2 separate regions of the Homo sapiens genome follow, and region 1 is linked to region 2. The links are contacts of gene promoters, found by promoter capture Hi-C in blood cells and fetal thymus (Javierre and others, 2016). All regions are on one chromosome and are shown on one strand. Each heading gives the region's core, a stretch centred on a gene start or on the middle of the fragment in contact. The rest is flanking DNA. Distances are from core to core; before and after follow the strand shown.

Region 1 (3,703 bases), core at 257-2,756, 110 kb before region 2:
TGCGTATCTTTTTGTGAGGTGTCTGTTCAGACCTCTTGCCCACTTTTCAATCGGGTTGTTTTCTTATTGTTGAGTCTTAACAGATTAGCTTAATCAGATTGGCTTCGGGAGGCTAAGGCGAGAGGATCGCTTGAGCGCGGGAGGCGGAGGTTGCAGTGAGTTGAGATCACACCACTGCACTCTAGCCTAGGTGACAGAGAGAGACCCTGTCTCAGAAAGAAAAAAAAAGAAAGAGCAGAAAGTAGAGAGTTCCCATATACCCTCTGCCTCCTACACTTCTCCCCTCCCCACACTTTCCCGTTATTAACATCTTGCATTAGTGTGGTACATTTGTTACAAGTGATGAACCAATATTGATATTGTAGGGGAGGGCAAATCTGTTTTCCTTCTACCCTTCTAAGTTCATGGCTGAGAACCCTATAACAGAAGACAGATTAATAAGAGAAAAGTGCATAAACATATTTAAGTTTTATGTGACATGGAAGCCTTTATAAGGAAATGAAGACTCCAAGAAGCAGTTACAGTTTGATGTAGGTTTGATAAAGGGTGGACAGTTGTGGAGGATATGATAGAGCAAAGAGTTTGAAGTAAGTGTAGTCCGCTGGCAGAAGCTTATCAAGGCCCGTTTGTTTAGTTAGATTCCTCTCTGTGTCCCTTTGTCTTCACAGATACCACCAGGTATAGGGAGGGCATCTCTCACCTGAGGGTCTTATGACCTGGCTTCAGGAGAAGGTCAGAAAACCCTTCCTGCACATGCTGCTTTTGCAAATTCCTTCACCTTAAAATATTCAATATGTCATTGTGTTAGTCTGTTCTTGCATTGCTCTAAAGAGATACCTGAGGTTGGGCAATCTATAAAGAAAAGAGTTTTAATTGGCTCATGGTTCCACAGACTGTATAGGAAGCATGATGCTGGCATCTGCTTGGCTTCTGGGGAGGCCTCAGGAAACTTACAATTATGGTGGAAGACAAAGGGGGAGCGAGACATCTCATGTGGCTAGAGCAGGGGAAGCAAGAGAGCGGGGAGGTGCCACATATTTTTAAACAACCAGAATATCATGAGAATTCTATCATGCAAACAGCACTGTGGGGATGGTGCTAAACTATTAGAAACCACCCCCAAGATCCAATCACCTCCCACCAGGCTCCGCCTCCAACATTAGGAATTACAACTGGACATGAGTTTGGGTGAGGACACAAATCCAAACCATGTCAGTCGTGGTGCCATATTTTGTGGTAGCACGTCCTGAATCCCATCAATAAATTATTCTGAACTAAAGTTCCATAGTTTCCATTAGGGTTCACTTTTGGTGTACATCCTACCGGTTTTGCCAAATGAATAATGCCATGTAGAACCGTTACAATATTGTACAGAATAATTTCACTCCCCTAAAAATCCCCTGTGCTGAACCTATTCACACTTCCTCCCCTGAGTCCCTGGCAACCACTGTCTCTATAGTTTTAATCAGAATGTCACATAGTTGGAATCATACAGTATGTAGCCTCTCCAGATTGCCTTCTTTCACATAGTAACATTCAATTAAGGCTCTTCCATGCCTTTGCGTGGTTTGATAGCTCATTTCTTTTTATTGCTGAATAATAATCTATGGTATGGATGTGCCACAGTTTATCCATTCATTTATTGAGGGACATCTTGGTTGCTTCCAACTTTTGGCAGTTATGAATTATGAATAAAGCTGGTATAAACATTCATGTGCAGGTTTTTGCATGGACATAAATGTTCAATTTGGGTAAATATCTAGAAACGTGATTGCTGGATCTTGCGGTAAGCATATGCTTTGGCCAGGCGCGGTGGCTCATGACTGTGATCCCAGCACTTTGGGAGGCTGAGGTGGGATCACCTGAGATCAGCAGTTTAAGACCAGTCTGGCTAACACAGTGAAACCTCATCTCTACTAAAAAAAATACAAAAATTAGCTGGGCGTGGTGGCGTGTGCCTGTAATCCCAGCTACTCAGGAAGCTGAGGCAGGAGAATCGCTTGAACCTGGGAGGTGGAGGTTGCATTGAGCCAAGATGGCGCCACTGCACTCCAGCCTGGGCAATAGAGTGAGACTCTGTGTCAAAAAAAAAAAAAAAGAAAAAAAAATGGCCAGGCGCAGTGGCTCACACCTGTAATCTCAGCACTTTGGGAGGCGGAGGCAGGTGTATTATTTGAAGTCAGGAGTTTAACACCAGCCCGACCAACATGGTGAAACCCTGTCTCTACTAAAAATACAAAAATTAGCTGGGCGTGGTGGTCATGCCGGTAATCCCAGCAACTTGGGAGGCTGAGGCAGGAGAATCGCTTGAACCCAGAGGCAGAGGCTGTAGTGAGCCAAGATCACACTTGCCGTTGCACTCCAGCCTGGGAGACAGAGTGAGACTCCGTCTAAAAAAAAAAAAAGCTTCATGACAAACTTCCAGACTTTCTTCCAAAGTGTCCGTATGAGTTTTCATTCCCACGAGTAATGAATGAGAGTTCCTGTTACTTCACATCCTTGCCAATGTTTGGTGGTGTCAGTGTTTCGGATTTTAGCAATTTTGGCAAATATGTAGTGGTATCTCACTGTTGTTTTAATTTGCAATTCCCTAATGACATATGATGTTGAACATCTTTTCATATGCTTATTTGCCATCTGTATATGTTTTTGGTGAGGTATCTGTTCAGATCTCTTGCCCACTTTTCAATTGGGTTGTTTGTTTTGTTATTGTTGAGTGTCAAGAGTTCTTTGTATATTTTTGGATAACAGCATGGTTTTTGTTTTTGTTTTTGTTTTTTTTTGAGACAGAGTCTCGCTCTGTCACCAGGCTGTAGTACAGTGGCATGAACTTGGCTCACTGCAACCTCTACCTCCCAAGTTCAAGCAATTCTCCTGCCTCAGCCTCCCGAGTAGCTGGGACTACAGGTGTGTGCCACCATGCCCAGCTAATTTTTGTATTTTTAGTAGAGACGGGCTTTCACCATGTTGGCCAGGATGGTCTGGATCACTTGACCTCGTGATCCACCAGTATGGTTGAGTTTTAAGAGTTCTTTGTACGCTTTTGGGTAACGGTCTTTTGTTTTGCAAACATTTTCTCCCAATCTGTGGTTTGTCTCTTCACTCTTAACTGTATCTTTTGAAGGGGGATCTCAAAGAACATCTGGTCCCCCACAACAACATGTCATGTCAGGTGAGAGATGACTCATTTTCTCAGAAACTAGGATTTTGTGTCATATGTTGTAAACCACGAAAAGTTAATTTTATAACCCACCTTCTAGATCTACTGAGAATACGTGGTGTTATCACTAACAGTTTTGAGGAAAGAAATAATTGCCTAATTCATTTTGTAGTGAATGTGTTTTGTTACTACCACAGATACTCTTAAAATCCACTTATTATGGAGGGGGAAAAAAAAGGAATTTTCTTTACAGAAAGTGAGGAGTGAAACCTAATGGAGAAAATATCTGTTTCAGGGAATAACCCTCCCAACATCTGATTTTTTTTTGTTTTAGACAGGGGCTCGCTCCGTCCCCCAGGCTGGAGTGCAGTGATGCAATCATAGCTCACTGCAGCCTTGAACTCCTGGGTTTAAGCAATCCTCCTGCCTCAGCCTCCTGAGTAGCTGGGACCACAGGTGTGCACCACCACTGCACCACCACACCCGACTAATTTTTTTGATTTTTGGTAAAGACAGTATGTTGCCCAGGCTGATCTTAAACTC
Region 2 (3,891 bases), core at 1,164-3,663:
TACCTGACTAGTAAACTTAGTGGTTGTAATCAGCTCATCATGGTGGTTGGGGCTAGCTCAACAAAGAGAAAAAGATGGTATGGTGGCTGATGCCTGTAATTCCAGCACTTTGGGAGGCCAAGGCGAGAGGATCACTTGACGCCAGGAGTTCGAGACCAGCCTAGCCAACAGGGCGAAACCCCGTCTCTACTAAAAACACAAAAATTAGCCAGGCATGGTGGCACATGCCTGTAATCCCAGCTACTCGGGAGGCTAAGGCAGGAGAATCACTTGAACCTGGGAGGTGGAGGTTGCAGTGAGCCGAGATCTCACCACTGCACTCCAGCCTGGATGACAGAACAAGACTCTGTCTCAATAAATAAATGAATAAAACAAAAAACAAAAACAAAGAGAAAAGAGATTCACAGATGAAACTGCCAAAATGTTGTAATCGTCATTACCATATTATAAATAACATTAAACATTTGCATTCAAAAGCCAGAAAGCAGAGGTAAATTGTATGGGTGATACAATCACTCAGTGGAGTTTTACATAGATTTTCAATGATCTTTGATGAATGTGTAGTTGTTTCCTTTTCCTCTTTCCCATGATAAACAATGTCTTGGTATATATTCTTTTGCTCTTAAGAAAAAAAAAAAAGAAGGCCTCACAGGTGTGGTGGCACATGTCTGTAATCCCAACACTTTGAGAGACTGAGGTGGGAGAGTCGCTTGAGGCTAGGAGTTTGAGACCAGCCTGGGAAACATATCGAGACTCTGTATCTACAAAAAATTTTAAAAATAGCCTAGTATGGTGGAGTGTGCCTGTAGTCCCAGCCACTTGGCAGGTGGTGCGGGAGGATCACTTGAGGCCAGGAGTTTGAAGTTGCAGTGAGCTAGGACCACACCACTGCATTTCAGCCTGGGTGACAGCACAAGACCCTGTCTCTAAAAAATAAATAAATAAATAAAATAAAAATAAAGGCCTTTTTCTTTGAACACCCATGGGAGTGATACTCAAAATATTTAACAACCAGTAAGACAAGGCTATTGAATAATCAACCAGGGTTGGAACAGGGTCCTGGGAGATCTCACTCCCACCTCCATGCCAGGCATTAACCCCTTAGTTGCTGAATCATGAGGTGGTCTGGGGGTGCCAGGGGAGGAGTTGGGACAACCAAGGTGGCAAGGAGGACATGCAAGGGGCTTGGACAATGGTCATCTACCAATCAATATGACAGTATTTTATTTATTATTATTATTGTTTTGAGACGGAGTTTTGCTCTTGTTGCCTAGGCTGGAGTGCAATGGTGTGGTCTTGGCTCACTGCAACCTCTACCTCCGAGGTTCAAGCGATTCTCCTGCCTCAGCTTCCCCAGTAGCTGGAATTACAGGCACCCGCCACCATGCCTGGCTAATTTTTGTATTTTTATAACGATGGGGTTTCACCATATTGGCCAGGCTGGTCTCAAACTCCTGACTTCAGGTGATCCACCCATCTCAGCCTCCCAAAGTGCTGGGATTACAGGTGTGAGCTACCGTGCCCTGCCTATATGGCAGTATTTTAATATTTCAGTAGCTAAAATCAGCCCTTGACTTCTCATAGCTTCTTAAGTGGGAACTACTTCTAACAGATTTTTGGGGCATCCTTCCAGAAATGTTGTGAGTGCATATAACCTTAAATGTTTTGCATATAGAACTTAACCTGTAGAGAAGCATAATAGATTTTTTAAATTATTTGCATAAGTGAGAGCATACTTTGCACACAATGTTGCATCTTGTTCTTTTTGTGTAACAGGATATCTAGTTGATATTTCCATGTCATCACAGATAGATCTGCATTTACAGTGGCTTGACATCATATAGCTCTAATTATAGAGGGGTGTGTGAGTGTGTGTAAGGATTTTTTCTCCCCCTTTTTTCCCTTTCCTGCACTTCTACCTGATGATTTTACCTGAGGCTTGCCCTAACAATAGTCACCAGTGAGCCGGCAGAGGCTTCAGAGAAGTTACTGGTTAGTATTAATAATCAGTAGAAAAAATAATATAAAACATCTTTTCCAAAGAGCTTACCTTGGACTGCCCAAAGATCTGTTATTCTCATGTGGCCCAAGTCAAACATCTTAAAGAAACCACCATGTTAGAGAGAAATGGTTCCCCATCAACACAGAATCAGAGTTTACTTTAGATCAAAAGCCACTTTAGTGGCCATTCCAAGTGGTTGAAATGCCGAAGGAGAAAATTCACAGTATATGTACTGCGGGAAGACAGACTTCTAGTGAATCCAATCAAAGGCTTTTACAAAGGCTGGCCTGGCACAAACATGAATTTCCCTTCTAAAGACAAAACAGTTGAAGTTTCTCAGTATTGCAATGAAATTAAACTAGAGGAGAAGGTCACCCCACCATTCAGATTCCTGTGACTTGGGCCTGAGTTGTGAGGTTTGCCCTTGGGAGATGGCAGGCCAAAGTTTGTTTATTTTGTTGCTATGGACACAGAACAGTAGCTCCTCATTGGCTCAGGGCTCTTTTCTTCAAGAGAGAAGGTTGGGAGAAACAGCCAATTAAATTCTCCAAGACACAAATCAGTGACCACCCTCAACAGCAAAGAATTCATACTTTTAACACTGGATTTCCACTTTCGTCATCAGTCATGGGACAAAAAAGTTTAAGATATATCTTCAGAGGAAATAGAATTCAACAGCACTTTTAGGCTTCATTGGTCTATGGCAATAGTTACCAGGCAGGATCTGTGATGGATTTTTAATTCCTCTGTGATCTACTCACAGAAACCTAAAACTCTAGACACTTTTTTCCCTCGAGTTTAAGGCTTTGAAATCTGTGAAAGTAAAAATCCCCCAAGGCAGGAATCTTTTGCAGTCACAAGGTTTTCCGATTTTTTTTTTTAAATAAAGCTGCTTTTTCTTACTATAGAAAAAAGTACTTGCTTATTACAACCCAGTGGCTTTCATTTTAGTTTTACTGCCACTCATTATAAGAAATACATTTTACAAATTTTGTAATAAAAAAATTTCATGAAATAATACTCTTATTATTTGCTATTCTCTTCTATTTCTTTTTCTTCTTTAAATTAAAGCTGATTATAATCCACTAGATTGATTTCATGATCCTGGTGGGTCACAACCCCTAGCTTACAAAATATTGTTATAAATTCATCTATTCACTCAACTTCACATTTGTTGTCTACTGTGTGCCAGGCACTATTGCTAGGTGTGGGGATATACCTCAGTTCTTATACTCAATACAACTTAGAGACCAATGAGAAAACAGACAATAAAAAAGCTCAATAAAAGCATAATTAATTTTTTTTTCCTTTGAGACAGTAGCTCACTCTGTTACCCAGGCTGCGGTGCAGTGGCAGTGGCAGTGCAGGCTGCATGCATAGCTCACTGCAGCCTTGACCTCCTGGACTCAAGCGATCCTTCTGCCTCAGACTCCCAAGTAGATGGGACTACACAGGTGCACAGCACCATGCCCAGCTAATTTTTTTTTTTTTTTTTTTTTTTGAGACGGAGTCTCGCTCTGTCACCCAGGCTGGAGTGCAGTGGCGGGATCTCGGCTCACTGCAAGCTCCGCCTCCCGGGTTCACGCCATTCTCCTGCCTCAGCCTCCCAAGTAGCTGGGACTACAGGCGCCCGCCACTACGCCCGGCTAATTTTTTTGTATTTTTAGTAGAGACGGGGTTTCACCGTTTTAGCCGGGATGGTCTCGATCTCCTGACCTCGTGATCCGCCCGCCTCGGCCTCCCAAAGTGCTGGGATTACAGGCGTGAGCCACTGCGCCCGGCCGCCCAGCTAATTTTTTTGACTTTTAGTATACATGAGGCCTTGCTATGTTGTCCAGGCTGGTCTTGTACTCCTGAATTCAAGTGATCCTCCTGCTTCGGCCTCCCAA

The links. The method cuts DNA at HindIII sites, captures the fragments that hold promoters and counts their contacts. A CHiCAGO score of 5 or more calls a contact.
Region 1: a fragment that was not itself captured here is called in contact with the fragment with the promoter of FLACC1 in region 2 in 1 of 17 cell types (endothelial precursors); the score reaches 5.8 in endothelial precursors.

The regions. Positions count from the first base shown.
Region 1 is chr2:201,249,512-201,253,214 of GRCh38, forward strand. It overlaps a transcript of CASP8 not described here. Among named protein-coding and RNA genes, the nearest start is that of CASP8, 9.2 kb to the right of the region's middle. The HindIII fragment of the contact is 1,795 bases long and covers 610-2,404 here.
Region 2 is chr2:201,354,932-201,358,822 of GRCh38, forward strand. FLACC1 (flagellum associated containing coiled-coil domains 1) reads right to left here and starts at 2,414. Exons shown (of 15, transcript NM_001127391.3): 1 at 2,051-2,414. The HindIII fragment of the contact is 10,294 bases long and covers 1-3,891 here.